Regions from separate parts of the Homo sapiens genome. Here region 2 is linked to region 1. Evidence: promoter capture Hi-C in 16 types of primary human blood cells and fetal thymus (Javierre and others, 2016). All regions are on one chromosome and are shown on one strand. The core of a region is centred on a gene start or on the middle of the fragment in contact, and the rest is flanking DNA. Distances in the headings are between cores, read along the strand shown.

Region 1 (4,690 bases), core at 702-3,201:
TTTCAGTTACAAATTCAGCACTTCATTTTTACCCACCCTAGAATAGCACAGAGAACACCTTCGTGAAGTATCCCCACAAGGGAGACACTCACAGCCTGACAAATTTGCATAGTGGAAAATATACAAGGCACAAATTTTTTAAAATGCTAAATGAATATCACACCCAAACAGTCTTAAAAACTGTGCAAAGTCAGAAGATGTCTTATCAAAATATGGACTTAAGGACAACTTGGGAAGCCTTTAAGTAGTTCGACGGAAAGGGGAATGCAATCAAAATTTGGGGTGGCCTTATGTTTTTAAGAGAACAAAACACATAACTAGAGGCTATGAAACATGCAAATTAAATTGAACTGTGGAAAAGCTCTTGGCTGTCACCCAAAAGCTTCAGCAAAGCAATATGCCAGTATGCCAAATAAAAAGAGGTACAATCTTCTCACAAGAATGAGGATAGGGTCCATACCTATGACTAATAATAACAATACAACCTTGCTTTTGCAGAGCATTAGGTCTTTTCATAGATCTTTCAGGCACTCGATTTTGATGCTGTCATTGGCCTTAGGAGTATCCTCTCCGAAGAGCTCCAGTTCAGTTTCCTCTTAAGAGTTATGATCAGAACAAGGCAGGCGATGTGTTTATTGAGGGTTGAAGGTACTATTGTAGTTTCTCCTATCAAGCTGTTTGCAGTGATCCTCCAATAATCACACTATACAACTCAGCCCCAGCAAATAAAACCTACATTCTTTCCCTCAGAGCTGGCCAGAGACCAACACATATAGGTCTAGAAAGTCCAAGGGAAGGAAACCTCCTGACTTGTTAGGTTAAGAACTCCATGCCAAATTCATCTCTTGCAATTGAAAAAAGAAATCTCTCTCACACTCTGTCTCTCTCTCTCTCACACACACACACACACACACACACACTCACCCAAGAGTGTTCAAACAGAAATCCTCTTTTTCTGCCAGCCAATGAAACCCAGCAACAACTGGTTAATACAACCACCAAATCTCTGCCTCTGTCAACAACTTACCATATTCGCTTCTCCTGTGCCTGCTGACCACCCTTCCCGCTTCAGGCACGCGTGAACACGCTTATACAGTAGCCCTCGAAAGGACCCCCAAAAGCACCTTTAAGGACCCAAGAGGATGAAGCTTGCCTCCTGAAGCAATGCAGCATCCATCTCGAGGGAGCCGGTTCCCCATGCACACACACAGAGGAAGTCACAGAGGGGAATAAAGTTTGATTTTCCTTCCTGCCCGACCCCTCGGGGACGAGAGAGGACGAGGGGCGGCCCCGCCGGGGTCCTGGGCTGCTCTCCGGGGCAGCTCCCAGCAGCATGGCACTGCCACTCTCCTGGCACACACAAGGCGGCCGCGGCAACTCAGAACTCCCCAACCCGCCCGGAGGAGGAGGGAAAGGGGACAACTTCCATCTGGCTCCGTTCAGGGAGCCTTGGGGCAGGGCTGTTAAGAACGAAGAAGGGAGGGAACGCGATTGGGGGCGAGTCGGGGAGAGGTTCAAGTCCCGTGCCTTCCCCGCCCTGGTGTCCCCAGTCCTGCGGGAACATCCCCGCCGTCGCCCCTCCTCCTCCTCTCGGCTTCCTCCCGCCCGCCCTCCCTTCCTGGTCGCCGCCGCAGGCGCCTGAAGGGCACGGCGGCTCCTCGGTGCCCGGCAACCTCCGGAGCGGCCGGGAGTTGAGGTAACTCGCCTGCTGCCCCGGCGGCCTGCCCGCCGGCGGCTCCCACACGCCAGCGCCGCCCCGCCCTCCCCGGAGCCTCCGGGCGCGCTCGCTCACCGTCCGGTGGTGCTGCTGCTGCCGGTGGCGGCTGACGCCCAGCCCAGGGAAGCAGCCGGCAGTCAGCGCCCCGCAGCCGCCGGCGCCCCCGCCGCCGCCGCCCCGAGAGGAGAGGAGCAGCAGGAGCGATCTACCTGCGGCGGCCGCCATCTCTCAACTGGAAACGGCGCCGACCCAGGCAGCGCAGCGGACGGCCAGGGCGGAGCTAAGACCCGCCACTCACCGACGCCGGGCCAACTAAAGCCCTTGACTGAGTTGATGAGGCGGGGCTTCCTGCAAGGTCCAATCGACAGGCGGGAGAACCACACTGGAAGCTGCCAGTCCCTTCCAGAGTTACCTATAGTGGGACATAGTCAATTACGGGCAAATTCTAGGGAACCCATAATTGACACCCAAACCCGTGAAAATAACAGCAATAGAGATGGCATGTTCAGTTCGGCTAATCTTCACCAACAATAGAGCTATGATAAGAGTAACGGGGGATATAGATATTTGTGAAAAGCTTTGTTCGAAGTTGAGTTCTAAGTGAGTGTTCTAAGTTGGCAAAATAGGCACCAAATTAATAACCATTAACGGTGTATGCTGTAACTCTCAACTACACGCCTAGAATTATCATTCATAACTGATAATATTTAGATATGCTGAAATTAACTCTACATCACGGAGTGATCTAATGACTGTGATGCGTAGCATAATATAGGAGAGGTAGAACGATTACAATATCAAAGTCCCAGAATGAGTACATGCCTTCAGAGTGAATTAACTGACGTGTATACATCTCAAATACCCAATTCATTTTTACAGCACCTTTATACGGATATTCTCACACTCTCCAGAAACAGCACTATTTTATCATATTTGACTTTGTGTGCATTTACAGAAACAGAACACATTAATAACGTAATAAAAAATCATGTAAGGCCGGGCGCGGTGGCTCACGCCTGTAATCCCAGCACTTTGGGAGGCAGAGGCGGGCGGATCACGAGGTCAGGAGATCGAGACCATCCTGGCTAACACGGTGAAACCCCATCTGTACTAAAAATACAAAAAATTAGCCAGGCGTGGTGGCGGGCGCTTATAGTCCCAGCTATTCCGGAGGCTGAGGCAGGAGAATGGTGTGAACCCGGGAGACGGAGCTTGCAGTGAACCGAGATCGGGCCATTGCACTCCAGCCTGGGCGACACAGCAAGACTCCATCTCAAAAAAAAAAAAAAAAATTCATGTAAAAGGCTATTTTAATGATGCTTCATAATTTTGCCGAAATAGTTATCAGAATACGCTTTGGAATAACAAACACTTTCTCTTGAAAAACACTTCTTTCCACTTAAACTCACAATGAGGGCTCCTTGAATACTGCCTAAGAAAGATTTTGGGTCCTGAATTTCCTTAGAAGAGTATTTCCTTGCTAGCTGTTTATTATTATGAGCTGATTAAATTCTCACACCTCTTTTTAAAATCTGGAGCAGGAAAATAGTTTGGGAAGCAAATACAAGCATTATTTTAAATTTTGGAAAACATCTTTGTAGTGTAGCCTTAGATGATAAATTTAAAACAAAAACAAAACACACACATAAATACGAAGAAAATGTTATCACTTATTCTAAGAATATTCTTTAAAGTTTGACTGAAATGGTACCTTCTTGGCCAAGAATAGCTAAAAAATGACGTGGAAGTTTTTTGTTTGTTTAATCCTTATGCCCCACCTACACCAAAACAGTGAGATGATTGGCTTCTCCGGGGTAGATATCATGTCACTCACTCAAAAGGCTTTATTGCCCAACAGGTGGAACTTGAGACCTCAAGAATGAGCCCCCATTCAACAGCTGCACACAGTAATCCCCCTAGTTGGAAATCCATGACATTCCTGGAACAATTTCCCTTACAATTATTTTCCACCCATCTATATTTATCCCAACTGCATTTGATGTATTTACCCATGCTGTGCCATTTTCTCTCTCACCCCTTCATGCCTTCTTACAGAGATCACCATGGATTTTAGTTTTGTTTTTATTTTCTGTGCTGTCACCAGATCTAGCTATGAATCAGGATTGCTCCATTTCCACTTTCCACTTTAAGAAATTTTACTAGAATTGCCTTTACTCTATTTTTCCAAGCATGAAAATTAGATGTGCATCCTGCAGTGAGATTTACTCATATGCATTAGCAAAAGAACTAAGTAAATAATACTTTTAAGTGCACAAACATGAAATGGGCAGTATTAGCAAAAGTTTTCATCCTACCTATTTACCAAAATGTGTCATCTTTTATCTACTAAGATGAAACCACTGATGCACCAGAGAGAGATAGGCTGTATAAATCTGAGGATTCACTGACTATACTCAGTTCTGGGTGTTGATAATCCAAGGCCGGCAATTAATTTAAACAAATATCAATTATCTCCTCACAGAGAAAAACTTCTTCATAGCTGCAAAGGACATATCTCATATGAGCTGGTTGGCCAAGCCTGATAAGGAGAAAGTGTAGATAGCTCAACAGAAAGTTCTTCTCAAACCTAAAAAAAAGTATGTGTGTGTGTGCCTGTATATACACACACATTATATAGAGAGAGAAGGAAAGGGAATTAACATACCTGCTATGTGCCAGAGATTGTGCTGATCACTCCAGAGATACTACATTTAAAAAGGAGGGCAAGACAACCACAGAAAACTTTTAAAAATTGTAACTTTCATGAGAAAGAAGTTGAAGAAAACCTCAATGTCTTCCAATAGGGAAATGGTTAAATACATTAGACACTAACTTTGTAACAGAAAATTATTCAACCATTAAAAAATTGAGGGCCAAGCACAGTGGCTCATATCTGTAATCCCAGCTCTTTGAGAGACTGAGGCAGGAGGATCATTTGAGACCACATATTTGAGACTTGCCTGGGCAACACAG
Region 2 (4,932 bases), core at 140-2,639, 610 kb after region 1:
GTGGGCACCGTCTCCATGGCAACTGAGCTGAGCTGCAGAGATCAAAGCTGAAGATGGGTTAGCTCCAAACCAGCTGAACCAGGGGTCATGTGAAGGGGTTTCTGAAAAATGCCTGGAGAACGGGGGCCCCCAGGTGTCTTCCCCTTCCACCACCAGACCCTCCTCTCCTGGCTGCAAAACTCCCTGCCTAGGACTTGAAGCAGAGTTGGTGTGGTAGGAGAAACCACCTGTGGGCTGGGATTGGGCCTCCTGGGACCCACCCCTGGCCTAGGACTTTTTTCATCAGCTAACATTTATGGAGTGCTGGTTAGGGGCACGGATTCTGGAATCACAGTTCTGGGTGCAGCACTCTTCTCCTGTGCAATTGCTGTGTGACCCTGCCTAAGTCACTTAACCTCTCTGAGCCTCAATTTTATCATCTGAGACATGGAGATAATAATAGTAATGTTTCTTAGAGCTGTTGTGAAGAGGAAACAAGCCAATGAATGTGAAGTGTTTAGCATAATGCTTGCCACGTGGTAATTGCTATAAAGATGTCAGCTATTGTTAGGAGTGTGTATTACTAGGTACTAGATGTTGGGCATAGAGAGAAGAAATTTACATGGTCTCTGCTCTCAAGGAACTGGCTATTTAACTAGGGCGGAGTGAGGCAGAGGCGACATTGCCTGGTGTCACTGGAACAATGGTAGACTTCTGTGAGGCACAGCTGGCCTGAAGGATAAGGAGTGGGGCTCGGGAAGATGATGGCTGAGCTGGGTTTTGGGAGATGAGTAGAAATTCTGGGGCTGATGTGAACTTGCATTCTGGATGGAGACAGCTGTGCTGGGGTTTGGCCATGCTGGAACCTTGCAGGAAGGACCTGGAGCTGGGGTAGCCAGGGAGAGATCAAGAGAAGATGGAATTTCTTCTGTAGGTGACTGGGAACCCGTGAAAGGCTTTCAAAATATAATACTTATTATATTTTTTATTATTTTTAAAATTTATTTTATTTTTATTATTTATTTCTTTATTTTTTTGAGACGGAGTCTCACTCTGTCGCCCAGGCTGGAGTGCAGTGGCGTGATCTTGGCTCACTACAAGCTCTGCCTACCGGGTTCACGCCATTCTCCTGTCTCAGCCTCCCGAGTAGCTGGGACTACAGGCGCCCGCCATCACACACGGCTATTTTTGTATTTTTAGTAGAGATGGGGTTTTACCGTGTTATCCAGGGTGCTCGATCTCCTGACCTCGTGATCCGCCCGCCTTGGCCTCCCAAAGTGCTGGGATTACAGGTGTGAGCCACCGCGCCTGGCCTATTATTTATATTTATTATGATTATGATTATGTTTTTTCTCTTTATTACAAAGTAATATATGTTCATTGCAGAAATTTTGGGGAAAGTTGGAGAAAAGCAGAAAGATGTCAGAATTCTCTGTATTCCTACCCAGCAGTGGAAATGACTGTTACCATTTTGGTATAAATCCTTTTCACCTACTCACTTTCTTTTTCCCCAAAATGAGATCAAACTGTATATTCAGTTTCAAAGAGAGAGAGACCGGGTCAGAATTGTGTTTTGGAAGGATCCGGGTGGCCGCAGCCGTGTGGAAGACAGTGGGAGGAGGGAGACCCTCAGGAGGCGCTGCAGTTTTTCGGGTTGGGGTGGTCCTGGCCGGTGGGTGTAGGGCAGGGAGGGCAAGCGAGAGGGATTCGGGAGGGGAAGGGGCAGGACAGTCTTTGGGTTGGTGAGGGTGGCACGGTAAGCGTGCTCCAGGAACGGGCCTGGAATTGGAAGCAGGAGCCTGGGTTCTCCCAGGGCCGGCCTGCTCCTCAGCACACCTTGTATCGCTTTGTGTGAGGCACCCTCGGAGGGAGGAAGAATGGCTGTTCTTTTTCATCCCAGAGGCCCCGTGTTTGGGGTGAAGACACCCAAGAACATAAGCAAAATATTAGACATAAGCACAGAGCGGGAGGGACCTGAGGCCTGATGGCTGGCCCAGTGGTCTCTAAGCTGCCTGCCTAGAGCCAGCACAGAAGCGTGGCCCGAGCTGGGTACCACCCATGGGATTTCAGGGGTCTCAGGTAGCATGTGCGTGCTGGAAGGTTTAAAAAGCTCCTTGGGGAAGGGCACAGTGGCTCATGCCTGTAACCCCAGTGCTTTGGGGAGCTGAGGGAGGAGGATCACTTGAGCCCAGGAGTTCGAGATCAGCCTGGGCAGCATATCAAGACCCTATCTCTATGAAAAAAACCACCACAATAAAAATTAGACAGGCATGGTGGCACATGCCTGTGCTCCCAGGTACTTGGAAGGCTGAGGTGGGAGGATCGCTTGAGCCTGGGAGTTCGGGGCTACAGTGAGCTATGATTGCACCACTGCACTCCTGCCTGGGTGACAGAGCAAGACTCTGTCTCAATAAATAAATAAAAATAAAGAGCTCCTCGGCTGATTCTAAGGTGCAGTCACCACTGAGGTCCTCAACAACGAGGAAGTGACTTCTTTGAGGACACACCGTGGGCCAGGCTGAAAGTGGACTCCTGGTCCAGTGCCCCTTCTATGTCCTCTCTCTGCCTCCTCCTCCTCAGTGCAGATGCTGGTCCTCTCTTAAGGAGAGAGACTCTAACTTGTGGGGTGGGAGGGGGCGATGGGGAACCCTGACTCAGCTCCTCTTTTGTCTTGCCATCTCTGGCCAGTTGCTCTGCCTCTCTGAGCCTTCGTTTTCTCCTTTCTTCTGGTGTTGATCCTATTGGCTCTGACTACTTCACAGGACTGTGAGGATAAAAGGCAGACCCATCCAAATGCCTGGAGAGAACTTACTCTAAAAGCACCATGCAGGCTGGGTGCAGTGGCTCACGCCTATAATCTCAGCACTGTAGGAGTCTAAGGCAGGAGGACTGCCTGAGCCCAGGAGTTCAAGACCAGCCTGGGCAACATGGCAAGACCCCATCTCTATTAAAACATTTTTTTAAATTAAAAGCTTTACTCATATAGATAGGTAGATAGATAAGCATATATAAGCACCATGCAATACAAGCCACGAGCTCTTCCAAATCCCCATTTTCCAGGTGAGGTCGGCAGCAGAGCCACCTGCCACCACTCTCAGGTGTAGAACGGGGCCTCTGTTTCCTGAGAAGCCCCAGGTGCCCTGATCAGACTATTTCTCACAACTGCTAATGAGCCCACTGGGGTGCCATAAATAGACACCCAACACTGCACTGAAAGGCATTATTTGCACTTGCCAACAAACACCTTTTTTTCAGCTTAAAGGTGGCGCCAGCCCACACCTGGCCTCAGGGACCCCTCAGTGTGTCCTTGAGTTTTACCCTCAGAGTGGCCACTCCCCAGCTGCCCAGAGGACTTCCTCGTCATTCCTCCCCACAAGACCTCCTAGGGGACTCTCCTCGTATCCCTTCTGGTCTCTGCTGTCCCCATGGTGGCCTCTCCCTCTCCACTTTTTTGGGGTTCCTCATGTGGCATCTCTGTCCCTCATTTTCCGCACTTGCAGTCCGGGGGTCTCTTCTCCATCATAGCAGCTTTGATTTGTTAAGTGCTTCCTGGACCCCAGGCACCCCGCAGGTGCCATCTGCTTTAATCTCTGAGTAGTCCTGGGAGATAGGCACTGAGCCCCTCGAGGTCGGGTGCTTGCCCAAGGTGCACTGGTCGGGGGAAGCCTGGGGATCTGCAGGACCCCAGGGCCCTGCTCTCCTCGTCCCTCTCTGGCTGGCTGCCTTTGCTTTCCTGGGAGTGAGGGTCCTGGAATCCAGATCCACTGGGGCCCCTCCATCCTGCCTGCCCAGCCTGGCCACAGCAGAGGCAAAAAGTCGAGGCTGGAACCGGGGGCAGTGCTTTGCACAGAAGGGGCTCCCTCCCTGCCAGCTGAGTCAGGAAGGGAGTGGGGGATGGTGGAGCAGCTGGGGAAAGCCCCTTTCTTAGAACTCCCACGCCATCCCCACTTTCCCCCAAATTTCTAATCATAAATTCTTGGTCTTGACCTTTGAGAATCCACTGTGTACTGAGTCCCAAAAATTCCACTCACGGCCTGGTTGGAGGTTAAGGCAGCAGGGTTGGGCCAGAAGGTGGGAGTGAGCCGGTGCCAGGGGCCTCAGATGACACCCAGGGGCTGGAGGCACCTTCCCTACTTCCACTCTGGGGCAGGTGGGTTATGGGCACACAGATCTTGTTGGTTGAGGGCAGGTATGGTTGAGGGCTCATACCTCCCTCCCAGAACCCAGCCATTTCCCATCACCTGCACAGCCTTGTCCCCACCCCTGCCCCAGGGGATGATGGGTACAGACGGGAAGACCCCAGCTGATGGAGACCAGTTGCCACTTTTGCCCCAACCCTTGTCATCATGGCCTCAGCAGCTGCACCTCTCTTGGCCTCCCTCCATCTCCTGTGGGGTGGACCCCCAGCAGAGGACCCCTGAACCCTGAGGAGCTCCTGGAGAAGGCTTCGTTGGTTTTAGCAAACGAGGGAAGTGGTGCCTGCAGCCTCCCCAGAGGCTTGCCTGGGGGCTCAGGAGCGCTCAGGTCAAGCCTGAGGGATGGGGTGAGTGCTGGGCCAGGTGCCCCACAGGCTCCCAGGAAGCACCCCTGCAGCCTTCCTCTGTCTGCTCCTGGGCCCAGGGGCTGCGGGACTCTTGGCTGCTAGGACAGGTACGTGTGGGCCAGGTGTGGGCCGAGCAGAGGGATGAGGAAGAGGCTCAATGAGAGACAGAGGAGAGAGGGACACAGGAACACACGGGGAGGCACGTGAAAGCAAGAGGAAGAAGGAGAGAGAGGGAGAGAGCCGCCGTGGGCTCTCACGGGAGCAGTCTGCGGTCCTCCCGCCCTCCCCATCCTTCCCGACTCCTGCTGCCTCCTTCTCTCACTGCGGAAGAGGCAGGAAGGCCAGCCTGAGGGAGAGCCTCGAGTGTGAAACTGGAGGCTGCTCACAGAGTGGGTTTTGTTACCTCGTTT

What was found. The method cuts DNA at HindIII sites, captures the fragments that hold promoters and counts their contacts. A CHiCAGO score of 5 or more calls a contact.
Region 2: a fragment that was not itself captured here is called in contact with the fragment with the promoter of MCU in region 1 in 1 of 17 cell types (fetal thymus); the score reaches 5.5 in fetal thymus.

What each region holds. Positions count from the first base shown.
Region 1 is chr10:72,689,404-72,694,093 of GRCh38, reverse strand. It overlaps MCU (mitochondrial calcium uniporter), which reads right to left and starts at 1,951. Exons shown (of 8, transcript NM_138357.3): 1 at 1,793-1,951. The coding sequence starts at 1,942. RefSeq lists enhancers at 514-603, 2,274-2,333 and silencers at 1,364-1,453, 1,474-1,523, 1,614-2,073. The HindIII fragment of the contact is 1,146 bases long and covers 1,151-2,296 here.
Region 2 is chr10:72,074,595-72,079,526 of GRCh38, reverse strand. All of the region lies in intron 1 of SPOCK2 (SPARC (osteonectin), cwcv and kazal like domains proteoglycan 2), which reads left to right. Among named protein-coding and RNA genes, the nearest start is that of SPOCK2, 11 kb to the left of the region's middle. The HindIII fragment of the contact is 3,129 bases long and covers 1-2,953 here.